Linked DNA regions of Homo sapiens: region 2 is linked to region 1. Evidence: promoter capture Hi-C in human tissues and cell types (Jung and others, 2019). All regions are on one chromosome and are shown on one strand. The core of a region is centred on a gene start or on the middle of the fragment in contact, and the rest is flanking DNA. Distances in the headings are between cores, read along the strand shown.

Region 1 (5,263 bases), core at 1,352-3,851:
GAAAAATAAATTAATACCACAGCATGCTAGCCAAGTTATGTTAACTTTAGAAATTGATTATATGCCAAAAGGCCCCTAGATGCTTTTTTTTTTTTTTTGAGATGGAGTTTTGCTCTTGTTGCCCAGGCTGTAGTGTAATGTAGTGCAATCTTGGCTTAGTACAACCTCTGCCTCCTGGGTTCAAGCCATTCTCCTGCCTCAGACTCTGGAGCTCCCCAGTAGCTGGGATTACAAGCAGCCGCCACCACGCCCGGCTAATTTTTTGTATTTTTAGTAGAGACGGCGTTTCACCATGTTGGCCAGGCTGGTCTTGAACGCCTGACCTCAGGTGATCCACCCGCCTCCGGCCTCCCAAAGTGCTGGGATTACAGGCGTGAGCCACTGCACCCGCGCCCCCGCCCCCACCCCCTCCCCCCCAGATGTTCTTATTCTCTGCCTTCTGTTTTCCAAAATCCTCCTTTCCCCTGAAGGTGACCTGAACAAGATGCGGTTGGGCAGTGCTGGGTGAAGCAGCCACATGTGTGTACTGCTCACCTGCAGAGCTGTAGGCTGTACCTGCAGTATGCAGAGGAGTCCTTCTAATTTTGCTCTCTGTCTTCCAGGCACCTGGGCAAACAGTGAGCAGGTACTGGAGGATCAGAGGGTCGCCTTCTCGACTGGCAATGTGGAAACTGTTCCAGCCATCTTTGTTCTTCAGGAGTGGATTGGCGCCATGTTCCACCAGCTCCTGGATCACCCCCAGGTTCTTCCTTGTGCAGGCCATCATCAGAGGAGTCCTAAGGCCAACCAGGAGAAGCTGTCAGATGGAGGCAGCTGAGACATTAGAAGCCAGGGGCCAGGTCTTCAAAACACACACATCCTTGGCACAGATGGAAAACCTAGAGGATTCAGGGGTCTGGCAGGCAGGAAAACAGCTTTGACCGGCAACCTCTGTGCCTTCTGTGAGGACCCTGGGAGAAATAATAAGGGGAAAATGATTGTAACGAACGTGTACCTAGAGGAGAGGGTGCCTGGGAGACAAAGCAGCTTATAAGCTAGTTCACAGGATAGCAGTGAATTGGAGCAGAGCTAAGAAAACCCACAGACAACCCTCAACACATAACGAAGTCTATTCCCCTGCCCCAGTGGGGAAGATGTACTTCCCTATGTTCCTAAAGATGTTCACGCCCTCTAACGAACCTGACCTAGTGAGTACTAAAATCAGTGTCAATCTAACAAACGAAATGCAATTGGCTTGTGTGATGGTGGAGCAGAGTATCTCTGACTGTGGTGGTTATGCAAGGCTGCACGTATGTGATACAACTGCACTGTGCTCTACACACACGAGCGCGTGTATAACTCAGGAATTCTGGATATTGATTGGAGCAATGCCACTTGAAACAATGCATTGGTGCAGAAGTAACTTAGCTAAATGTCCCCAGAACATCGCATCCGGAGGCTATCTGTATAGTGCACACACTTCATTGTTTGGTAACATTCTCTTTGGTTATATTCTACACTATTCCGTGCTCTAGAAAGGGAGGTGACTGCCCCGACCAGTTAACCCACAAGGGCAGGAACGAGGGACTCTGCAGGTCATCTGCGTTATAAGGGAAAGTTGGGCAGGAGGTCCCTGCCGCTGAGCAGGCCTGGGGTGAGAACTAGGAGCTGAGAACAGCTACGGTGTCCAAGGGGACGGAGAAGCACAGGGAACTCGCTACGACTCTGCGAGTAGAGGGGAGGCGGGGTGTCTTTCCGCTCCACACCTACCAGTCGGCCTTCTTCAGGCAGTCGACCGCTGCCCCCCGGCCCAGCAGGTAGCGCACGCAGTCTCGGTGGCCCATGGAGGCCGCCTCGTGCAGAGGCCGCTTGTAGTCTCGGTTGGTGGCCTCGATGTCCATGCCCCAGGCCTCGGCCAGATAGGCCAGCACGTCCCGATGCCCGTGGCGCGCGGCGCAGTGCAGGAGGGTATCCCCGGCCGGCCCCGGGCAGCCCCCGGCCGCCTGCAGCTCCTCCTTCAGGGCGCGCAGCCGGCCCTCCTGCACCAGCCTGCAGAGGCGCCGCGGGTCCCCGGGCTGGGCCATCGCCGCGGGTCGGGCCGGGCTGCGCGGGGAGGCGGCGGGCGGGACACCGGCGGCCGGGCAGGGAGAAGCCGAGGGCGAGTGGGACTTTCCGCCTCTTCACGCAACCTGCCCCGCGCGCCCCGAACCCGGCAGAACCGCCCCTCACGCCCCCGGCTTTGTCCCCGGCAGAGCCGCCTCCTCAAACCCCCGGCCTAGTCCGCAGGCGGGCTGCCCCCTCACAGCCCCGGCCTGCCCCGCGTGGGAGAAGCCGCGGTTCCGGGCACGGGGCGGTTTTTCCTCAGGGACGGAGCGGTCCGGGATGAGCACGGAGGGGCCTGGGGATCCGAGAGCGCTGGCGTCCGCCGTCCTGGAGCTGCAGCGGCCCGTACGTGATTCGGGACTGAACACGTAAGGGAGTGGGGCGCGCCGCTACACCGCAAAGCCCCAAAGTGGAGGGTCCGGGAGGGCGCGCACAGCCTCGCCCGGCGCCGTGCAGGGTGGCTCCTGAGGCAGCCAGGCCCAAGCGTGACCTGCCCCGCACGCGTCCTCAGGGCCGCCCCAGCCTCCAGCCCCTGGGGGCCGGCGTTCCTGGGCTCCGCCCCCGTCCCCGCCCCTCGACCGCCGCTGCTCCGCGGGGACTCGGGGAGCTCGAAGGAACTCTGGGAAAGTTTCCCGCTCCGCCCCGGCCCGAGCGGAAGCGCGGATGGGGCGTGGCCCGGTAGCTGTGGCCGCGCCCCCACCGATTGCGCATTTCGATTGGCGTTAGTGGCCGTCCGTCAGCACGCCCCCTCCGGTCTCGCGTCCCGATTGGTCGCGGGGGCCGTCAGTCCGGCTCCGGCGGCGGGCGCTTCCCGGGGCTGCGGCGGGGCGGAGCTCGCGGAGGAAGTCGGCGGGCGTCTCGGGCTCCAGGTCCCGGCCAGAGGAGGAGCTCGCTGCCGGGGGACGCTGGGCTGAGCGGCCGGCGGCGCGGGCCCGGCGGCGGCGGCAGCGGGGTCCGGGTCCGGAGCGCCACAGTGCGTGAGGCCGCAGACGTGGCAGGGAGTGTGGGAGGGGCTCCGCCGTGTGGAAAACTTAACCTCCGGGGTCCTGCGCGGGGGGTCCGGGCCCGGGGTGGGGCAGCGGGGGCCCCGGGGGCGCGAGGCTGGGCTCGGGCAAGCGCGGGCGTGGGGGCTCGGCCGTCCGGGCCGTGGGCAGGTGGAGGGCGCGGCGGGGGTGCGCGGGGGAGGCCAGGGCGCTCACTGAACTCGGTCGGGAGCGGCCCCCGCGCTGCCCCCCGAGGCCAGGAAGGCGCAGCGTGTGGGTCCTCGGGGCTGAAGGGGCAAGCGCGGGGACGTGGCCTCGGCTGCTAGGAGGCCAGGCTTTCCCGTCTACTCTGACGTTTTGACCTTGGGCAAGTCATTTTTCGCTGCCCTCTGCCCCTGTGTCATCGGTAGCTTCTCTGCCCCTCCTCTGAGCATGGGAAGCCTAAGGCGATGTGGGAGGCCTGGCGCTGGTGGAGGGCACGGCGAGAGCTGGGCAGGCTGTGGGTGATGGAAGAGATCAGTAGGTGTTGGGTTCCTTACCCGATCTGATTAGGTGCCAGTCACTTAACCTCTCCATGTTTTCGATTCCTTTAGGGAGTAGAATGGGAGTAGCTCCTATTTGCCAGGCCTAAAAACGAGTGCCGTTTACATTTTTTATTGCAGTCTGTGGTCCGAAGACAACCCTATGAGGCATCAGTAGGGTTTTACAGGTGGGGAAGTGGAGGCCTAACCAAGTCAGTGACTTTCTTACAGAATTACAGGTAATAAAGTCTTCTGGAAGGCAGGATGGTAGCATGTGTTGAGTGTCCGCCAGCGTCTGCCGCTGTGGTAAAATGAGCGGAGATAAATGAAAAGACTTCTGGAATGGGCCCATGAAGATAAGTCCGTTTTACTCATGAGCAGATTGAGTTTGGTTAAGGTAACAGTGATGTGGATAGCCTCTGGAGACAGAACTAGTCCAAGTACCAGCTTTGCTCAGGTTATTGTTCTGTCGTGCCTTGTCACTCCAGCAAAAGAAAAAAAGGAAGGCATAAAAGTTGTTTGAAATGCACAAAAGTGTAGGGCGTGCCAAGCAGTGTTCTGCTGCCGTTGAAGTTAGTGCAAATTGGAAGTTGAGGCATCTGGTAGCTTCATGCTTTTTGCTTTTACCCCTGCCCCTCTCCCAGTTTCAGATGACTATCTTCTCTTGCATTATGTCTCTAGTTTCCCTGTTTTTTAAACATAATTGGGACACACGGGTTCACAGTAGGTTGGAATATATATATATATTTTGAGACAGAGTCTCGCTCTGTTGCTCCGGGTGGAGTGCAGTGGCACGATCTCGGCTCACTGCAACCTCCCCCTCCCGGGTTCAAGCAATTCTCCTGCCTCAGCCTCCCGAGTAGCTGGGATTACAGGCGTGTGCCACCATGCTCGGCTAATTTTTTTGTATTTTTAGTAGAGACGGGGTTTCACCATGTTGGCCAGGCTGGTCTTTAAACTCCTGGCCTCAAGTAATTCACCCAGCTCGGCCTCCCAAATGCTGGGATTACAGGCGTGAGCCACCGTGCCTAGCCAGGTTGGAATATTTGAACCCAGGATAATTGGTTACTTCATTGGTGTTGCACATTCGATTCTGCCTCTTGTGTCTTCTCTATGAACCTTCTTTGCTCTGTATCCCCCTTTGGATAACTAAATGATAATGTATGTGAATCTGTCCCGCAGCTCCTGTGATTTTCTGGGCAAAAGCTTGGTCTAGAGGGGCGGGATCTGAACAGTAAGCTAATGGATGGAGCTGTTTCCTGGGTCTTGCTGTTTTCCGGTTGGGCTGCTCATTTCTTTCGTGCAGACTTTTGGAGGTTGTGGTCTGGCCTTTACAGTCACGTCACATGTAGTCGTCATTGGCACCGACTTGCTCCTTGGCTGCCCTTCCTTTTCCTCCTGTTTTTCATGGGTATGCTGTTGAGCATGCCCATTGGTACACTGATCATTTGACAGGTTTCGTGATTTGTGAGTGTGTGTAGACACCACTATTGGTATTAGATTTAGAATTCTAATTTTGGGTTTGTTGACATCATCTTTTTGCTGCTTATCTCATTCCTCTATCCCTCCTAGGCTGATTTTATTTGGAAACTGAATTTGGATTCCATCTTTGCCTTTCTGGCTGTGAAATTACCTACTTTTAGAAAGCATCTCAAATCTTATATCTGTAACTGTCAT
Region 2 (5,263 bases), core at 1,465-3,964, 520 kb after region 1:
GAACCCTGTTCTGTAAGTAAAGTTTCATTGGGACACCCATTTGTTTCCGTATTGGCCGTGACTGTTTTTGCACAGCAGGGTTGAGTAGTTGCAACACAGACTGTATGGCTGTCAAAACCTAAAATATTGGCTAAATTGTCCTTTACAGAAACATTTGCTGACCCTGGTACATAGTTTACATTATGAGTTGGCTACTCATCACTGTCACCTGAGGGCCACATCTTATCAAAGCTCAGAGAGATAAACACAAAGGGTTTAGGATGAAGTGTTTTACAGGGATAGTAATGCCATATAATGATGATGATGATAGATAACACTTATTTGTTTACTATGGTCACACACACTTCTAAGTATTTGATAGATACTAAGTCTTTTTGATAAACACAAAAATGCCCAGCATCTCAGTACTCCCTCAAGTTTATTCAGTCACTGGCAAAATTAGCCTATGAACCCAGACAATAGCTGGAAGTTGAGGAGAAACTTATTTTTTTAAGAGATGATGTCTTCCTCTGTTGCCCAAGTTGGAGAGTAATGGTGCCATCATAGCTCAAGCTCCTCGACTCAAGAGATTCTCCCATCTCAGCCTCTGAGTAGCTAGGACTACAGGCATATGCCATCATGCTTGGGAAAAGAGGAGTGACTTTTAAATGTGATGGATTTATGGTAAGAAGACTCTAAAGTCATATTTGGGCAAAGGAGTGTTTAGTTATCTTCGAATTCGCTTTAAGATGTAAAAGAAATTTATCATCCTCAAATCAGTTTAGAGATTCAATGGAATTCCAATAAAAATATCAAAAGGGAGTTTTAAAAAGTGAAATTAAAGCTAACTTTAAAGTTCATTTTTAATAGCACATGTGTAAGAATATAGAAGAAAAACATCTAAAAGAACTGCCTTGCTAAGATATCAAAGCATGCTATAAAGTGATAACAACCAAAACACTTGGTTCTCGATGTTAGAACAAACAGCTCAATAGATCATAACAGGTGATATTCAAAGATACGCAAAGATATGTATGGTAAAATAATTCACAACAAAGATAGAATTTTAAGTCAGTGGGGGAAGGACAGATCCATTCAGAAAACAGCATTGAGTCACTTGGTTATCCATTTGGAAAATCAATAAGGTTAGATGCCTATCTCACGTCATATATTAAATTCATGATTGATTAGATCAGAACCTCCTGACCAATGTGCACACTGGTATAGCGTAAGCGGGTTACAAGTGACTTGAGTTATTGATCCCTCAGTGGGCCACTAGGTACAGCCTGGTATTGTCAGTACTCCTAGGCTGGTTGCTGCCTTCCACAATCACTTATGAGCACAATTGCTCGTGTACTCTAGTTTTCTGTACAAACATTACAATTTTATTTTTTATTTTTATTTTTTTTGAGACAGAGTCTCACTCTGTTGCCCAGGCTGGAGTGCAGTGGCTCCATCTCGGCTCACTGCAAGCTCCGCCTCCTGGGTTCACGCCATTCTCCTGCCTCAGCCTCCTGAATAGCTGGGACTACAGGCACCCGCCACCACGCCCGGCTAATTTTTTGTATGTTTAGTAGAGACGGGGTTTCACCATGTTAGCCAGGATGGTTTTGATCTCCTGACCTTGTGATCAGCCCGCCTAGGCCTCCCAAAGTGCTGGGCTTACAGGCGTGAGCCACTCTGCCCGGCCTTAAACATCACAATTTTCTATGTTTTCAACCACTCTAAAAAAGTTAGGCTTACTTTAAACAGCAAAAACAAATGAAATATAAATATTAAAACTTCTCATCAATGTCACCAATAAAAACAGTATCTCCCTACATTCCCTGGGCTCCTCTGCAACAACCTATTCTTCAACATGAATATTTTTAATCCTTAGGAAGATGTAGACATGGGAGGATAAAAAATTATGTCACACACACACACACACACACACACACACACACTAGGAAGCACTGGATTAAATGCCACTTGTGCACACACACACACACACACACTAGGAAGCACTGGATTAAATGCCACTTGTGCACACACACACACACACACTAGGAAGCACTGGATTAAATGCCACTTGTGCACACACACACACACTAGGAAGCACTGGATTAAATGCCACTTGTGCACACACACACACTAGGAAGCACTGGATTAAATGCCACTTGTGCGCGCGCACACACACACACACTAGGAAGCACTGGATTAAATGCCACTTGTGCACACACACACACTAGGAAGCACTGGATTAAATGCCACTTGTGCGCGTGCACACACACACACACTAGGAAGCACTGGATTAAACAGCTAAAAGAAAAATATTTGAGCTTTCCACTGCTGGCCAAGGTGAAGTAACAGGAACTGGATTTGCCTTCCCACCAGAAACAACCAAAATCTAACAATAAATAACAGCCCTGACGACATTGGACATCAGGTCAGAAAGAATCTCAGTGGTCCCTGAAAGATGGGGAGCAAATAAGGTGATCCCCAAGATTGTAGCACTTTCCTACCTGGAGAAGGTTTCAAGGGCACAGCAAATGCGTGGGGAACTCAAGGTGACTCCGGAAGGTTCCCTGAGTCATGTAGGTAGAACAGAGAGTCCAGAGGGTCCCAGGCAGCTGGGGCTCACAGGGCAGTGACTGGAGAAAGGGAAATCCTGAGGTCTGCAGGAGATCTTAAGCAGTGGGGAAAACTACCCTTAGATCAAACATTTTGTTGATCTTTTCCAGTAAAATTTAAAGCAAGATCTGAAAGTACCAATTTCCAAGTAACTTTACCACATCACAAAACAAAGCTCAAAACTGTTTTTAAGAATACAGAAATGTCCAGTTCTCACCAAAGAAAAAGTATTGACATTCAACATTAATAACGAATTACCGGGCACACAAAGAAACAGAAAAATAAATGAGGAGGGGACGAATCAACAAATCAAACTGACCCCAAAATGACACAGATAATAAAATTAATAGACAAGGACATTCAATGTATTATTATAACTGCATTCCATACATTCAAAAAGCTAGAAGTATTGAACACATTAAGTCTAGACATAAAATATCTCTTAACAATTGAAGTTCTAGAGGTGAAAACTATAATGTCTGAGATAATCAATACATTGATTAGGATTAATGGGAGATTAGATATTACAAAGAAAATATTTGTATGCATGTAAAGATTTGTACATCTGAAAACATAGCAATAGAAATTATCCAAGACCCTGAGATAAAAGTGATAAAGAAAAAAAAAAAAGAAAGAAAACCCCCATAACATCAATGAACTATGGGATTACTTCAAGTGGCCAAATATATATGCAATTGGAGACCCAAAGGAGGAGGAGACAGAAAATACATTTAAAGAAATAATGGCCTCCAACTTTCCAAGTATGATGAAGACTTTATTTTTTAATTTTAATTTAATTTTTTTTTGAGACAGAATCTTGCTCTGTCACCCAGGCTGGAGTGCGGTGGTGCAATCTCCACTCACTGCAACCTCCGTCTCCTGGGTTCAAGCTATTCTCCAGCTTCAGCCTCCCGAGTAGCTGGGACTACAGTTGTGAGCCACCATGCCCAGCTAATTTTTGCATTTTTAGTAGAGATGGAGTTTTGCCATGTTGGCCAGGTTGGTCTTCAACTCCTGAGCTCCAGTGATCCACCCGCCTCGGCCTCCCAAAATGCTAGAATTACAGGTGTGAGCCACTGCGCCTGGCCTGATGAAGACTTTAAATCCACACCACCCAATAAGCTCAATGAACCCCAAGCACAAGAAACCAAAGAAAACGATACCAACACATATTGTAATCAAATTTCTTAAACCTAGTGATAAAGAGAAAATCTTAAGCCCAAGAAAATACATATATATATATATATATATATATATATATATATATATATATATATATATACACTTACTCAAAATTTACAGGAAATTTCAGCTCATTCATGAACTTCAGGTTAAGAACTTTCTAATTTAGCTTAAGGAGGTGAAGGCATGAGAACAAGCTTGTGGTAAGGTGGAGGGAACAAGTCATACTGCACACCAGTGGTTAAAGTCTGGTCACTGCCATTGTAGAATTCCCTCTGCGCTGAGATCCCCAGAACCATATGTTTGTACTATTCTGGGATTGTTTGGGTCAAATTATAAATGAAGCCCCATTGTTGACAATTGCTGCTAATGTTTCTCTCTCTCTCTCTCTTTTTTTTTTTTTTTGAGACAGAGTCTCTTGCTGTGTTGCCCAGGCTGGAGTGTAGTGGTGTGATCTTGGCTCACTGCAACCTCCGCCTCCTGGGTTCAAGAGAGTCTCCTGCCTCAGTCTCCTGAGTAGCTGGGATTACAGGTGTCCTCCAACATGCTTGGCTAATTTTTTGTATTTTTAGTAGAGATGGGGTTTCACTATATTGGCCAGGCTGGTCTTGAATTCCTGACCTCAGGTGATATGCCCGACTCGACCTCTCAAAGTGCTGGGATTACAGGCATGAGCCACCATGCCTGGCCTGTTTTCCTCTTTTGAAAAAGGAATGGACCACTTTATAGAATACTTGGCAAATAAGCCTGTAGGAATCAAATATTTATTAGGATATAGCCATTTGGATTCTTGATATGATTGAGCAGACATACAATGAGTGCAAAATACAAAGATTCTTCTTTTTTTAAAATTTAATTGAATTTTTTATTTCAATAGTTTTTTTGGGGGTGCAGGTGGTTTTTGGTTACATGGATACGTTCTTTAGCGGTGATTTCTGAGATTTTGGTGCACCCATTACCTGAGCAGTGTGCACTGTACCTACTGTGCAGACCTTTGTCCCTCAGCCCCTCCACCCTTCCCCTTGAGTCCCTAAAGTCCATTATTTCATTCTTATGCCTTTGCATCCTCATAGCTTAGCTCCTACTTATAAATGAGAACATATGATGTTTGGTTTTCCATTCCTGAGTTACTTCACTTATAATAATTGTCTCTAGCTCCATCCAAGTTGCTGCAAAAGACATTATTTCATTCCTTTTTATGGCTGAGTAGTGTGCTATGGTGTATATAGACCACATTTTCTTTATGCACTCATTGGTTGATGGGCACTTAGGTTGGTTTCATATCTTTGCAGTTGTGAATTGTGCTGTTATAAGCATACATGTGCAAATGTCTTTTTCATAGAAGGACTTTTTTTCCCTTTGGGTACACACCCAGTAGTGGGATTGCTGGATTGAATGGTAGTTCTACTTTTGGTTCTTCAAGGAATCTCCACACTGTTTTCCACAGTGGTTGTACTAGTTTACATTCCCACCAGCAGCGTAAAAGTGT

What was found. Contacts are between HindIII fragments. The study calls those that stand out against the background at their distance.
Region 2: a fragment that was not itself captured here is called in contact with the fragment with the promoter of ANKRD16 in region 1 in 1 of the 25 tissues and cell types used here (spleen).

Annotation. Positions count from the first base shown.
Region 1 is chr10:5,887,292-5,892,554 of GRCh38, forward strand. It overlaps ANKRD16 (ankyrin repeat domain 16), which reads right to left and starts at 2,602. Exons shown (of 8, transcript NM_019046.3): 1 at 1,750-2,602; 2 at 556-776. The coding sequence starts at 2,063. It overlaps FBH1 (F-box DNA helicase 1), which reads left to right and starts at 2,952. Exons shown (of 21, transcript NM_178150.3): 1 at 2,952-3,055. The coding sequence starts at 3,055. RefSeq lists silencers at 1,885-2,164, 2,175-2,284, 2,425-3,144, 3,335-3,384. The HindIII fragment of the contact is 15,491 bases long and covers 1-5,263 here.
Region 2 is chr10:6,411,583-6,416,845 of GRCh38, forward strand. It overlaps a transcript of PRKCQ not described here. Among named protein-coding and RNA genes, the nearest start is that of LINC02656, 64 kb to the left of the region's middle. The HindIII fragment of the contact is 9,433 bases long and covers 1-5,263 here.